2 separate regions of the Homo sapiens genome follow, and region 1 is linked to region 2. The links are contacts of gene promoters, found by promoter capture Hi-C in blood cells and fetal thymus (Javierre and others, 2016). All regions are on one chromosome and are shown on one strand. The core of a region is centred on a gene start or on the middle of the fragment in contact, and the rest is flanking DNA. Distances in the headings are between cores, read along the strand shown. Region 1 holds the start of CEACAM16-AS1 (CEACAM16, CEACAM19 and PVR antisense RNA 1). Region 2 holds the start of SIGLEC9 (sialic acid binding Ig like lectin 9).

Region 1 (7,865 bases), core at 3,517-6,016, 6.4 Mb before region 2:
CAAGTGATTCTCCTGCCTCAGCCTCCTGAGTAGTTGGAACTACAGGCTTGTACCACCACGCCCAGCTAATTTTTGTATTTTTAGTAGAGTCGGGGTTTCACCGTGTTGGCCAGGCTGGTTTCAAATTCCTGACCTCAAGTGATCGACCCGCATCGGCCTCCCGAAGTGCTGGGATTATAGGTGTGAGCCATCACGACTGGCCATTTTTTGTCTTTTTGATGACATCTTGCTCTGTCATCCAGGCTGAGTGCAGTGGCGCAACTATAGCTCACTGCAGCCTCCAATTCCTGGGTTCAAGCAATCCTCCCACATCAGCCTCCCAAGTGAGTAGCTGGGACCACCACTGTGCACCACCACACCTGGCTGTTTTTAACTTTTTGTGCAGACAGGGTCTCGCTGTATTGCTCAGGCTGGTCTCGAACTCCTGGCTTCAAGCAACCCTCCTACCTCTGCTTCCTAAAGTGCCAGGATTATAGGTGTAAGCCACCATGGCTGGCCAACAATATAATTTTTTAAACAGGCAAATTATCTTAACAGACATTTCTCAAAAGAAGACATACAATGGCCAACAAGTATATGAAAAAATACTCAACATCATACTCATTGGGGAAATGCAAATCAAAACAACAATGAGGTATTATTTCACCTGAGTTAGGATGGCTGTCATCAAAAAGACAAAAAATGGCCAGTTGTGATGGCTCACGCCTGTAATCTTAGCACTTCGGGAGGCCGATGTGGGCGGATCACTTGAGGTCAGGAATTCGAAACCAGCCTGGCCAACATGGTGAAACTTCAACTCTATTTTTGTAAAAATACAAAAATTAGCCAGGCATTGTGGTGCAAGCCTGTAATCCCAGCTACTCAGGAGCCTGAGGCAGGAGAATCACTTGAACCCAGGAGGCAGAGGTTGTGGTGAGCTGAGATGGCGCCATTGCGCTCCAGCCTGAGCAACAGAGAGAGGTTCCCTCTCAAAAAAAAAAAAAAAGAAAGAAAAAAAAAAAGGAGCAGGGATTCAGCTTTTGAGGGCCATGGCGAGGATTTTGGCCATCACCCCAAGTGAAGTAGGAGCCACAGAGGCTGGATGGGTTCTGATTCAGTTTCTTTTTTTTTTTTAGATGGAGACTTGCTCTGTCGCCCAGGCTGCAGTGCAGTGGCGCAATCTCGGCTCACTACAACCCCCGCCTCCTGGGTTCAAGTGATTCTCCTGCCTCAGCCTTCCCAGTAGCTGGGATTATAGGCATGTGCCAACTCACCCAGCTAATTTTGTTGTTGTTTTGTTTTGTTTTGTTTTTTGAGACAGAGTTTCACTCTTGTCTCCCAGGCTGAAGTGCAATGGTGCCCACTCAGCTCACTGTAACCTCTGCCTCCGGGGTTCAAGTGATTCTCCTACCTCAGCCTCCTGAGTAGCTGGGATTACAGGCATGCACTACCACGCCAAGCTAATTTTTGTATTTTTAGTAGAGACGGGGTTTTGCCATGTTGGCCAGGCTGGTCTTGAACTCCTGACCTCAGGTGATCCACCTGCCTCAGCCTCCCAAAGTGCTAGGATTGCAGGTGTGAGCCATCATGCCCGGCCCTGATTCAGGTTCTAACAGGATCCCTCTGGCCATGAGGTGGAAAGAGACTGTTGGGGGCAGAATTGTAAAGCGAGGGACAAGAAGAGTCAGGGGTCTCCAAGCTTTGAGCCTGAGCCACTGCAAGGATGAAGCTGCCATTTCTGAGGCCAGAAGGCTGCAGGCAGGGCTGGGTTGGAGATTGGAATGAAGATAGGTCTTGTTTGAGGCCAATGAGGAGGGAGCCTCACCCGAGGCACACAGGCTCCAGGCGGGAAGTTGGCGACAAGTTGTGGACTGTGGTTTTCACCCACCTCATGGGGCCCCCTCATCCTCTCCCCCAACTTCCCCTCACGCCGTGGTGGAGCCAGCTTTGTTTGTTTCCCCCCCATCATCCGTTTCATGATGGGGAAGACTGGTTTTCCCCTAACCCAACAGACACCTCTTCCCTCAGCCTGTCCCTGACCCTCCCACCTCGGGAAGCCCCGAGCGGGCCTCCCAGAATGTCCCGGCAGGAAGGGGCTGCTGCTACCGTTCATCCAGCCAGATGAACCCCAAAAGGGGAAGTGGGTCACCCGTAGTCACCCGGCTCATGGTCAGCTCGGGACTTCAGGATCTCGTCTCTTCACTGCACCCACCACAGCCCTGGGAGGTTTTCCATGCACGCTTCTCATTCTCCCCACATTTCACACGAGAAAACAGGGGCTCCAAGAGAGGCCCACACTCACCTAAGGAGCTCCAAAGATAGGGGCATCTGGATTTGAACCCAGGTCCTAGCAGATGTTGTTAGCTCAGAGGAGAAGGCAGAGAGGGTGAACAGAACCCAGCCTGCCCTCCCAGATCCAGTGGGAAGGCAGACTTGTCCCCAGGTAATAATAGCCCAGCAGTGTTCACAGCCTGGGATGGAGGAGCCCAGGAGGCTGCAGGAGCTCAGAGCGCATGCCTGACCCAGCCTGGGGTCAAGGAGGGCTTCCTGGAGGAAGGGACAGCTCATCTGATACCTAGAGGATGAGTGGGAGTTACTAGGTGTAAATAGTGCAGGGAGAGGGAAGAGTATGTGCAAAAGCCTAGGGTTGAGAGGAAACCTAGGGGCTCCAGCAAGGCGCAGTGGCTCATGCCTGTATTCCCAGCACTCTGGGAGGCCGAGGCGGGCGGATCATCTGAGGTCAGGAGTTCAAGACCAGCCTGGCCAACATGGTGAAACCCTGTCTCTATTAAAATACAAAAATTAGCCAGGCGTGGTGGCGTGCACCCATAATCCTAGCTACCTGGCAGGCTGAGGCACGAGAATTGCCTGAACTTGGGAGGTAGAGATTGCAGTGAGCCAAGATCACGCCACTGCACTGGCGACGAAGTCAGATTCCATCCCTCTCTCTCAAAAAAAAAAAAAGCTGGGGGGAGCCTAGGGGCTTCTAAATCCGATCGTGTCCTGGCCCTGATTAAACTCTCCTACAGCTGCCCTGGCAAACTCTTTAGCTTGGCATTCATTCATTCATTCATTCATTCACTCATTCATTCCATAAACATTCCCTGGAGTGCATTGTCAGTGTCAGGCCCCAGGGGAACACAGCAGTGACCACGACAGCCCCACCAGACCATGACCCTGACCAGGGGGCTCACGAGGGCGGAGACATCTACTCCAAGACCTGAAGGAGGAGTAGGAGAGATGCTGGGGAAGAGGCAGGGAAGGGTGTTCCTGGCAGAGGGAACAGCCTGTGCGAAGGCCTGAAGGTAAGTTTTGCATATGACACCTTTGAGAAACTACTTATTGTTCAACTGAAGCATAGGGTTGTTCAGAAGAAGCCAGCCTTGTGGCCGGGTGTGGACTTCCTCCCAGGGCACCAGGGAGCCACTGCAGAGTTGTGAGCAAGGGACAGACAGAGGTAGGCTTGTACTTCCAAGAGACTCCCCCAGCTGCCACATGCAGGGTGAATGGAATGATGCACAGAATCCAGTTTCAGGGGTAGTTTGGTACTTGGACCCAGGTCCCAGGGAGAGAGTCCAAGGAGCCCTTCTCTGGTCTTCCAAGGAGCTGCTCTCCCCAAGCTCCGGATGGAAGGCGTGCCCATGGCAACCGCTAGGTGGTGCCCGTACACCACCAGCCAGGTCTTTTTTTGCCAAAAGTAGATCAGGCCCAGAGCTGGGCAGAACTGCCCCTGGGTCAGGAGAGCAAATCGTCTCTGTCTTTTGGTCCTGGCTCCCTGGCCAGGCATCCTGGGGCCATTTGACTCCCAGGCTCAGGAAGGAGCTGGCTGAGCTGCAGTGAGTATGTTCTTCGTCTCTTTCCTCACCTTGGAATCTCAGACGGGAGCACCCTGGCTCCCACTTCAGACAGGAAGATTCTTACCTCCCTCATCAGACTAGCAGGCTCTTTGTCTCCCCACCAGTTTGAGGGGCTCCCCATTTCTATCATTCATTTGGAAGCTCATCAGCTCTCCCAGAAGGCATGGGAGCCCTTCAACACCCCCATCAGACTAGGACTACCCATCTCCCCCATCAAATTAGAACTGCATTGTCTCACACATCAAAGTATCACTCCTGGCCAGGTGCAGTGGCTCCCGCCTGTAATCCAAGCACTTTGGGAGGCCGAGGCAGGAGGATCACCTGAGGTCAGAAATTCAAGACAAACCTGGCCAACACGGTGAAACCCGGTCTCTACTAAAAATAACAAATTAGCCAGGCGTGGTGGTGTGCGTCTGTAATCCCAGCTACTCAGGAGGCTGAGGCAGGAGAATCGCTTGAACCCAGGAGGCACAGGTTGCAGTGAGCCAAGATCACACCACTGCACTCCAGCCTGGGCGACAGAGCGAGACTCTGACTCACAAAAATAAATACATTGTCTTACACATCAGAATGTTGCTCCTTACCTCCCCTGGCAGACTGGAAATATAGACTGGACACTCGTTCTTGCTGCACAGGACTGGAGCTTCTTATCTTCTTCATTGGATTTGGACAGTCCTGTCTCCCTCATGGGATTTGGTGAGAGCTCCTTAGTTTCCTTATTTTTCCCACTGTGTTGGGCCACCTTGTCCCCACCATCAGATTGGGGAACACCTTGTCTCCCAGTCAGACCAGAGGGGCGGACTCCTCTGCCCTTGCAAAGGTTCCTAGGTCCTTCTTACATCCATAGGAGGAACCATGCCTATTTTACCAAGAGGGAAACTGAGGCACAGAGAAACAAAGCACCACTTCTCTGTCCAGCTGCAGATGCCTCCACCTCCCCCTCCGCCCGCTCCTCTGCCCCTGCCCTCCCCCGCCCCCGCCCCTGACCTGGGTAACTCCCCTGGCACCGGGAGTAGGGGAATTTTGCCCTGCTGGCCTCTGCACCAACCACCTCCCCTTATCGGCAGCGTCGCCACCAGTGGCGGCCCAGGGTTAAAGTCCGGAGAGAGCTCCGGGCGCGAAGCGGATAGGGAGGGAGGAGTGGCGCCCAACCCAGAACGGGGACTCCCCGGAGGTCGAGCCCTCACGCTGCTGGGAGGAGAGGGGATGGGCAGGGCCGTGTCCCATGGTAAGGTGTGGGTTCAATCCTTCCTTTCTAGTTCCCGGCTGTGTGGTCTTGAACCTGGAACTTCACCCCAACTGGGAGCCTCAGCTTCTCCAGCTTTAAGGAGTCAGGGGCGTGAAAATGTCCAAGCTCTGGAGTCAGACTCCAGGAGTTTGAATGCTGGCTCCTATAACCTGCTGTGTGAGATCTGGGGCCAGCGAGTGTGTCTCTCTCAGCCTCAGTTTCCCCAGCTGTGCAATGAGGATACCTAGTGGGTGGTGGTGAACGCTCCATGAGTTTACGCACAAGAAAACCTTGGGACAGTGGCTGATAGTGGCGCCAGCAAGCCAGCATGCACCCCACCCTTTCCTTCCAAGAAAATTGCCTCCTAAATCTATGATTGGTAACCTTCACCCCTCCCTCTTTGACCCACCTCCTAACCCAGGCCACCTGGTGTCTTGCTGCACAGCTGGTCTCCCTGCCCGCACCACACCCAGAGGCGTCCTTGGAAACCCAACCCTGACCCCTGGTCAGAATCTGCCATGGCTCCCCAGTGCCCCCAGGAGAAAGCCAAGTGCTGTGCCACAGCCACAGCCTGACCACTCACTGCTTGTATTTTTTTTTCTTTTTCTTTCTTTTCTTTTCTTTTTCTTTTTTTTTTTTTTTTTTTAAGACAGGGTCTTGCTCTGGCCCCAGGCTGGAATGCAGTGGTGCCATCATAGCTCACTGCAGCCTCAACCTCCTGGGCTCAAGCAATCCTCCCACCTCAGTCTCCTGAGTAGCTGAGACTACAGGCACATGCCACCACACCTGGGTAAATTTTTAAATTTTTTTTTTAGCGATAGGGTCTCACTCATTGCCCAGGCTGGTCTTAAACTCCTGGGCTCAAGCGATCCTCCCGCCTCAGCCTCCCAAAATGCTTGGACTACAGGTATGCACCACCGCGCCCAGCCTCCTTTCTGGTTTTCTAATAAAGCCTTTTGTTCACCTCCTTCAAACACTTCCCCATGCTCTTCAGGTCTCAGCTCAAACAGGCCAGGCCCGGTCCCCTGGGTCCTCTCTGTCCTCCGTCTCCTGGTTCCCTGTACCTCTCCAAAAGCCCCCACGACCAAAAGAAGTAAAGATGTAGGGCCGGGCGCGGTGGCCTACACCTGTATTTCCCAGCACTCTGGGAGGCTGAGGTAAGTGGATCACCTGAGGTCACGAGAACCGATTGAACCCCAGAGGCAGAGGTTGCAGTGAGCCGAGATTGCGCCACTGTACTCCAGCCTGGGCGACACAGAGAGACTCAACCTCAAAAAAAAAAAAAAAAAATGGTGGCTGGGCAAGGTGGCTTATGCCTGTAATCCCAGCACTCTGAGAGGCCAAGGCAGGCAGATCACTTGAGCCCAGGAGTTCGAGACCAGCCTGGGCAACATGGTGAAAACCCGTCTCTACAAAAAATACAAAACTTAGCTGGGTGTGGTGGCATGCGCCTGTAATCCCAGCTACTCAGGAGGCTGAGGCATGAGAATCGCTTGAATCCGGGAGGTGGAGGCTGCAGTGAGCCAAGATCATGCGACTGCACTCCAGCCTGGGTGACAGTGCAAGACTCTGTCTCAAAAAAAAAAAAAAGTTCCCACTCTGGTCCAGCCACCATCACTGAAGGCCCGGACCATGCAGTCACCTCCTCATGGGACTCCCTGCCTGGGTCCTTGCTGCACCTCCACAAGGACCTGTCTTTCCCCCACATGCAGCCACAGGGATCCTGTTAACACCTAAGTCATCAGAAGGCTGAGGCGGGAGGATCGCTTGAGCCCAGGAGGTCGAGGCTATAGTAAGCCAAGATGGCACCACTGTACTCCAGCCTGGGCAACACAGTGAGACCCTGTCTCTAAACAGTAATAATAATAACAAATTAAATTAAATTAAAACCTGGCCTGGGCATGGTGGCTCATGCCTGTAATTCCAGCACTTTGGGAGGCCGAGGCAGATAGAGTACCTGAGGTCAGGAGTTGGCCAACATGGTACCTGACCAACGTGGTGAAACCCTGTCTCTATTTTAAAAATATAAAAATTAGCTGGGCCTGGTGGCACATGCCTGTAATTCCAGCTACTCAGGAGGCTGAGGCAGGAGAATCGCTTGAACCTGGGAGGCGGAGGTTGCAGTGAGCCCAGATGGCATCACTACACTCCAGCCTGGGCGACAGAGCGAGACTCCATCTCGAAAAAAAATAAAAAATGAAGTCAGATTATCCCTCCCCTGCCCAGAACCCTCCATGGCTCCCATCTCCCTCTGAGTAAAAGCCTATGTCCCTACAGTGGCTCATAAGATCCTGAGCCATCTCCTTGCCACCCTTCCCCTCTCCCCATCCTCCCACTCTCCCCCAGCTCATCCTGCTCCAGCTACACTGGCCTCCAACAGCTGTTCCGACCCACCTCTGGGCCTTGGCACTTGCTGTTCCCTCTGCCTAGAATACTCTTCCCCCAGATGTCCACATGGTTCATTCCCTCCCCTCACTCAAGTCTTAGCCCCAAACGTCATTCCTTGGAGGGCCTCCCTTGGCCACCAGATTTAAACAACAGCTTCCACTTCCTATGCTCCATCTCCCTCATTCCCTCACCAGTTTTATTTTTCTCCATAGCAAATACATACCATTGGCTGTATTTTCCTTGTCTTGTTGACTGTCTCCTGGATGGATGGACGAGTCTGTGGCTCCCCAAGGGCAGGAATCTTAGTTGTTCAACACCAGGGCAGGGCCTGGAAAACCTGTTAGCAGAGTGAATGAATTGTGTGTGTGTTTTGAAAAGGTAAGGTGTTCACAAGTTCCAAAATTCAAAAAGGA
Region 2 (7,623 bases), core at 376-2,875:
TGTCCCGCCTGAGTTAGAATTGAAGTGGCCGATGCTAATCTGAGGCCCGTGTTGGCTCTGCAGGTGTGGAGGGCCCCAGGGGAGCAGTGCTGAGAGGCCTGACTGAGCCCCTCCTGCTCAAGACAGAACTCAGATGTGGACACCCAGCCCTGCAGAACAGATGCAGGACAACACTGTCAGCCATGGCTCAGCCCTTCTGACCATTGCAGTTGAGATGCTGCAACTTCCCAGGGAGCGACTGGGCAAACATGGGGGCCTGAGGTATTCACGGCAACGTGCACAGATGATAAAACTACCTAGAAAAGCATGGAGACCATTAGCGTTAAAGTGAGGCTGGGGCTGCTTCAGGAGGAAGTGGGGTGTGGCTGACAGGAAGTGGGGTAACAAAGAGGAGGTGTTGCGGCATCCCCAGTGTTCTGTTTCTCTAAGCATGTTCATATGTGTAAACCGCTGAGATTTTTTCTTGGGGGGAAGACATTTTTATCTATATGGCTTATATTTCTCCCAAAAATATTTCTAGAAAACTGACATCGGTCTAAGGAGGCTCCACCACACAGGATACTCCCAGTTCCTCCCAGCCCAGCCACACAGTTACAAAAAATCTTCTGCTGAATTCAGGTGCATGTTTCTTCTCCCATGAAATCCTGCCCATCGCGGAGGGTGCATGCCCCGGGGCTGGTGTCCTCACTCCACATCTCCTGTTCACCGGGACCCCTGGGAGCAGAGCTTGCAGAAGCAAAGCCCCAGGGCCAGCTGATCCCTCATGTTCTGGAGTAACCAGGGAAGTGTGGCTGAGCGAGACATCGGTGGTGAAGAAACCCTTCGTGGTGCAGTGAGGAAAGGAGAAATATCTTCCCTTTTGAAATCTGCCCCTTTTCTTCCGAATTTCCTCCCTTCCAAGCCCCACAGTACAACAGTCACAGCCTCAGTTTCCCAGACCTCCTGCGAGCCAGGCTCCCCTCTGTGTCCTTGGCGTGTATCAACACATAGAATCCTCACCTCCACAGCCCCATGTCCCTCTGCTCAGTCCTCCTGAGATTGAACCCCTGACCTACGGGAGAGTGACCCCATCCTGCCTGTGCCCCCCAACTGAAGCTCCTGCCGTGGACAGCTCAGACGTCAGGAGCCTCCATGTCTCCCCTCCGCACAGTGACCCCTTGGGGACAGTGTCCAGCTCTGCTGTGTTGACCTCGTTGTGCAGAAAGGGGGTGCCCACCTCGTGCTTGCTTGGGGGGGATGAGAGGCTGCCTGCTCACCCCACCTGCACCCCCATCTCTCATGGCCCCAAGTCCCACCTCTGAGCTACGCAGATATCCACAGCCTCTGACTCAGGGGTCTGGCCAGATGGGACTCATTTTCACCCTGCAGAAAATGTCACCTAAGGGGAAGGGCATTGAGAGGGAGGCAGGAGGTGGGGTGGGCCCTGCATGGGGTGGGAATCTGGGTGAGTCTGTCTCCCGCTCTGGCCTCAGGGACCCAGGAGTGAACATGGGGTGGTGGACGGTGGATCTCCCAGGGCTGACCCGGGCCTGACAGTGTCTGGGTGTAAAGTTCCTCCTCTGAGGAGGTCACTGTTCCGACCTCGCCCCTGTCTTCCTGTAGGGCCTCCTCTAAGTCTTGAGCCCGCAGTTCCTGAGAGAAGAACCCTGAGGAACAGACGTTCCCTCGCGGCCCTGGCACCTCTAACCCCAGACATGCTGCTGCTGCTGCTGCCCCTGCTCTGGGGGAGGGAGAGGGCGGAAGGACAGACAAGTAAACTGCTGACGATGCAGAGTTCCGTGACGGTGCAGGAAGGCCTGTGTGTCCATGTGCCCTGCTCCTTCTCCTACCCCTCGCATGGCTGGATTTACCCTGGCCCAGTAGTTCATGGCTACTGGTTCCGGGAAGGGGCCAATACAGACCAGGATGCTCCAGTGGCCACAAACAACCCAGCTCGGGCAGTGTGGGAGGAGACTCGGGACCGATTCCACCTCCTTGGGGACCCACATACCAAGAATTGCACCCTGAGCATCAGAGATGCCAGAAGAAGTGATGCGGGGAGATACTTCTTTCGTATGGAGAAAGGAAGTATAAAATGGAATTATAAACATCACCGGCTCTCTGTGAATGTGACAGGTAAGGCACAGGCTCCAGGAAAGGCCACAGGGAAAGGTCATGGGGGCGGCAGGGAAAGGCTGGGATGGAGCCCCTGCCCCAGGAGAGGGCTTAGGGTGAAGCGAGTTGGCTCAGGGCAGGAGCTGGACCAGAGCCTGAGCTCCCCCCAGGGCTGCACCATGGATCCTCTGACCTGATCCTGAGTCCCCCTCTCTTCACCAGCCTTGACCCACAGGCCCAACATCCTCATCCCAGGCACCCTGGAGTCCGGCTGCCCCCAGAATCTGACCTGCTCTGTGCCCTGGGCCTGTGAGCAGGGGACACCCCCTATGATCTCCTGGATAGGGACCTCCGTGTCCCCCCTGGACCCCTCCACCACCCGCTCCTCGGTGCTCACCCTCATCCCACAGCCCCAGGACCATGGCACCAGCCTCACCTGTCAGGTGACCTTCCCTGGGGCCAGCGTGACCACGAACAAGACCGTCCATCTCAACGTGTCCTGTGAGTGCTGGGCCGGGACGCCTGGGTCCCTGATGGGGTGAGCGTCAAGCCTGGACACTGGGTGCTGGGTCCCGGAATCTGGGCTGGTGGTGGGGTCAGGAGGACACTGGCTCTGCCTTCCCTGTTTATGCGGCTCCTGGGGACAGACAGGGCCAGTGTCCCCAGCCCTCACAGTGATGCGGGTCTCCATGTCTTTCTGTCCCAGACCCGCCTCAGAACTTGACCATGACTGTCTTCCAAGGAGACGGCACAGGTAGGATGGAGCTCCCTCCCTGGGGCTGGAGGAGCAGGGCCTTCAGGTCAGGATGGGGCTGGCTTATTCCTCAACCTGGACTCACTTTGGCAAACAGGGATGTCCTTGTGGGTGAACTCAGGGCCCCTCTGTATCCTTAGGCCCCAAGGCCACTTGTTCCCATCCTCCCATCACCTCCCTTGGACTCCCCCACACACCCCCCCCTCAGCCTCAAACAAGAAGAGGGTGGCATTCACACAGCAGGACCAGGCTTTGAGGCTCCTTCTCATGTATCTCCTGAATACATCTCCACCCTTATCTGTTTATTTCTGATAGTTCTGATCTAAGTACTTCTGGACAGGTGATAAATGTCCATGGGCAAAAATTCAAATTGCAGAGCAAAGGCTCTCCTCCGATGCCTGCCCCCCTCCCCAGAACCAACCACTGTCCATCCAGGCTGCCCTGAGTCTCGGTTTGTACACCTGGAGGATCTCAGAGGTGGTTTGACGTCCGTAGTGAGACTGTCCGCACCCTCCTCTAGGGCTGTGTGTGAGTCCACTGCATGGATGGACTCTGATTTTGTGGCATCTCCTAATGGAAGATCACGGCACTAATTTCATCCTACGGCAGGATAGAACAATCTTGTATCTACTTCCACAGGAATATCTAAGCCTGTGGGTTAAGTTCCTAAAAGCAAAATGTAGCTACATTATATGTTCTTTCTTATTTTGAAAGATAAGCCCAAACTGTTCTCGATGAAGCGGGGAGAAGTTTACATTCCCAGCAGTGAGTGGTGAAAGTGTGTGTTTCCAGAACTTCAGTCTATGTCTGTGTGTCAGTTGCTGTCATCAGTCTCTTTCTGTATCCTTCCTTTTTCTCCAGATCTATGTATCTCTCTGACCCTCTGTCTCTTTTTCTACAGTATCCACAGTCTTGGGAAATGGCTCATCTCTGTCACTCCCAGAGGGCCAGTCTCTGCGCCTGGTCTGTGCAGTTGATGCAGTTGACAGCAATCCCCCTGCCAGGCTGAGCCTGAGCTGGAGAGGCCTGACCCTGTGCCCCTCACAGCCCTCAAACCCGGGGGTGCTGGAGCTGCCTTGGGTGCACCTGAGGGATGCAGCTGAATTCACCTGCAGAGCTCAGAACCCTCTCGGCTCTCAGCAGGTCTACCTGAACGTCTCCCTGCAGAGTGAGTGCACCAGTATGCTGGGGAGGGGCTGGAGAGGAGAACACACCTCCTCCACCCTTAGTAACTGCTGAGCGTGGACCTTCAGAGAGGAGCTCCGCTCTGGTCTGTGCTCAGCTGTGAGGTCTGGAACTTCCCTGGGACCCACAGCACCACTGTCCTCTTCCTGCCAGGGAAGGGTTGTGGGGTGGGGAGAGGGCAGGAGTGGATCTCAGAGGGGACAGGATGGGGCCGGACAGGTGTGTTTAGGGAGACAAGCGCCTTTCTTTGCAGGGCTGAACTGGAGTCACACAACTGAGATACTTGCTTTGAGCATCAAATTAAAAAAAAGAAAAAGCCCAGCAAGTCAGCAATCAAATGAAATCATATTGCAATGCAATAATCTTTTAAAAAAAGTAAAAATTGAATGCAAAACAAATTCATTAATGGATAAAATATTAAAATTGTGAAAAAAAACCCCAAAAGGAATGGCTGGCACTTGCACGCCTCACTGGCCTCAGGAAGAGTCTCTCCATGTCCTGCTCTCTCTCATTCCTGTTCTTTGTGTCTGGAAAGGGGAAGTGGAAATAGAAGTCTAGGACCCTACAGGAAGTGGGAGGAGAAGAGACCCAATTCTCTATGATATATCACAAAAATAACTCCCATCTGTCAACAGGCAAAGCCACATCAGGAGTGACTCAGGGGGTGGTCGGGGGAGCTGGAGCCACAGCCCTGGTCTTCCTGTCCTTCTGCGTCATCTTCGTTGTGTAAGCATGGACCCTAGAGAGGGAGGGAGGGAGAGCCCTGGGGGAGGACAGGCTGGAAGCTGGATCCCTGAAGCCAGAGCTGGAGGGACCTGGATGGGTCAAGAGCTTGGGGCAAGAAGGAGGTCACAGGTGCATGGTGAGAATTCCATGTGGGCCTGTGTTTGAGGAGCTTTGAGTCTGTGGCAAACCTTGGTACCCACTGTCCAGGAGAAGAGAGCCTCTGTTCTCAACCTTGGGGTCTCTAAGACTGGACCACTGCTTTCCCACCTCAGTCACCCCTGCAGTCCCTTAATAGGAAACACATGGGGGTACCTGGTCTGCCCACCGCACCCCAATCTGACCACACTGAAAGGCTCTCTGGTCTCTTCACTCAGAGTGAGGTCCTGCAGGAAGAAATCGGCAAGGCCAGCAGCGGGCGTGGGAGATACGGGCATAGAGGATGCAAACGCTGTCAGGGGTTCAGCCTCTCAGGTGAGTGATGTGGACTCTCCACAGCCAGCATGTAGCCTGGACACCTCCCACAGGATGACCCCCAGGACTAATCAGCTGGGCGTAGCCAAAGTTACCTCCTCTCTGTTCTTCCTTTCTTCTCTGTAGCCCCAAATCACAATGTTTGGTTGGTTTCCTCCCCTAAGAACAGCTTTTATTGTCTCTGCTCCCTATCCTGACCCTTCATTGCTGAGGCCTGAGGATCTCTGTCTTTTGTTCCCTCACCTGTCTGCCTGTCTCCTCTCCTTTCCTGCCTGGGGGGACTGTCCAGAAGACATCATCGTCCAGTTCCTCTGCATTTGAACAGCTGTTCCCCCACCCCTCAATACCGTTTAGAGCAGAAGCCAGCAAATACTATCTGTCAGGGACAGATAGAAACTATTTTCGGCTTCATGGGCCACACAGTCTCATTGCAGCTCCTCAAATCTGCTGTTGTAGCAAGAAAGAAGCCATATACCCTGTGTAAACAAATGAATATGGCTGTGTGCCAATAAAACTATTCACAAACATAAAGAGTGGGCTGGATATGACTCAGATACTGTAGTTTGACAACCCCTGATCTAGAGTAAAAATCCCAAACTCTATAGCCTGCAGCAGTGCACATTCTGACTTTTTTTGTTTTTTTTTTTTTTTGTTGTTGTTGTTTTTGAGACAGAGTCTTGCTCTGTCGCCCAGGCTGGAGTGCAGTGGTGCGATCTCTGCTCACTGCAACTTCCACCTTCCGGGTTCAAGCCATTCTCCTGCCTCAGCCTCCGGAGTAGCTGGGACTACAGGCGCCTGCCACCACGCCCAGCTAATTTTTTTGTATTTTTAGTAGAGACGGGGTTTCACTGTGTTAGCCAGGATGGTCTCAGTCTCCTGACCTTGTGATCTGCCCACCTTGGCTTCCCGAAGTGCTGGGATTACAGGCGTGAGCCACTGTGACCGGCCACATTCTGACCTTTTAAGCACCTACCTCTCCACTAGGGCAAGAACAAGGGTGAAGTGAGTGAGGCTGTTGCCTCAAGTGCATTTTTTCGTTTGTTTGTTTTTGTTTTTTGAGATGGAGTCTCGCTCTGTCACCCAGGATGTAGTGCAGTGGCACAATCTTGGCTTACTGCAACCTCTGCCTCCTAGGTTCAAGCGATTCTCCTGCCTCAGCCTCCTGAGTAGCTGGGATTAAAGGTGCACACCACCACACCTGGCTAATTTTGTATTTTTAGTAGAGACAGGGTTTCACCATGTTGGCCAGGCTGGTCTCAAACTCCTGACCTCAGGTGATCCGCCTACCTCAGCCTCCTGAAGAGCTGGGATTACAGATGTGAGCCACCGCGCCCCATCCTCACTGTCTGCTCTGACTCACTTCTCTCTCCCATGTCTCAGGGGCCCCTGACTGAACCTTGGGCAGAAGACAGTCCCCCAGACCAGCCTCCCCCAGCTTCTGCCCGCTCCTCAGTGGGGGAAGGAGAGCTCCAGTATGCATCCCTCAGCTTCCAGATGGTGAAGCCTTGGGACTCGCGGGGACAGGAGGCCACTGACACCGAGTACTCGGAGATCAAGATCCACAGATGAGAAACTGCAGAGACTCACCCTGATTGAGGGATCACAGCCCCTCCAGGCAAGGGAGAAGTCAGAGGCTGATTCTTGTAGAATTAACAGCCCTCAACGTGATGAGCTATGATAACACTATGAATTATGTGCAGAGTGAAAAGCACACAGGCTTTAGAGTCAAAGTATCTCAAACCTGAATCCACACTGTGCCCTCCCTTTTATTTTTTTAACTAAAAGACAGACAAATTCCTACCTCTCTGTACCTTGGTTTCCTGCTCTGTAAAACAGGAATGAGAAGCCCTACTTGCAAGGTTGTGGTCACCATTCCAGGAGTCACATCCCGTTAGAGCTCCTGGCACAGGTGTATGCCGAGCACTGATGGATCGCTGTGCTTTGAACACAAAGGTCCTGCTGGGAACCTCTCCTGATTCTGGTGGCAACTAGTACTTATATGTCTGTGTCACTTGCCTGCAAAATAGCGATTCTGCAACTTTCCAGGAAATAACCTCAGCCTGCAAATCAGGTCTAGGTAGCATCTGGATCCTGCCCACCTCTTCAGCCTCATCTGCCCACCCTGTGACTGCTAGGCCGCCTTACTCTCTGCAGTCTACGTATTGTGCACAGTCCAGTGGGAATCTTTAGGACACACTGAGCTCTCTCCGCACTGCTCACAGCCCATCCATGGCTCCTGGATCCTGAACCTCCCATCACATCCTCTTCGTGACATCACTCTCCCACTTCAGTCCACTCCTCCATCTTCACCACTTAACCCACTGGTCCCTCTGGTCTTTTCCAAATCATTTGCAACATGCCCTGTTGGTTCATACCTCAGTCCTTGCACACTG

What was found. The method cuts DNA at HindIII sites, captures the fragments that hold promoters and counts their contacts. A CHiCAGO score of 5 or more calls a contact.
Region 1: the fragment with the promoter of CEACAM16-AS1 here is called in contact with the fragment with the promoter of SIGLEC9 in region 2 in 1 of 17 cell types (activated CD4 T cells); the score reaches 7.1 in activated CD4 T cells.

The regions. Positions count from the first base shown.
Region 1 is chr19:44,720,417-44,728,281 of GRCh38, forward strand. It overlaps CEACAM16-AS1 (CEACAM16, CEACAM19 and PVR antisense RNA 1), which reads right to left and starts at 4,767. Exons shown (of 2, transcript NR_186815.1): 1 at 4,421-4,767. RefSeq lists enhancers at 1,886-2,035, 2,166-2,275, 2,346-2,405. The HindIII fragment of the contact is 7,565 bases long and covers 1,677-7,865 here.
Region 2 is chr19:51,123,281-51,130,903 of GRCh38, forward strand. SIGLEC9 (sialic acid binding Ig like lectin 9) reads left to right here and starts at 1,626. Exons shown (of 7, transcript NM_014441.3): 1 at 1,626-2,115; 2 at 2,317-2,595; 3 at 2,801-2,848; 4 at 3,750-4,016; 5 at 4,669-4,759; 6 at 5,134-5,230; 7 at 6,611-7,030. The coding sequence starts at 1,695. The coding sequence ends at 6,799. RefSeq lists an enhancer at 5,647-5,696. The HindIII fragment of the contact is 17,590 bases long and covers 1-7,623 here.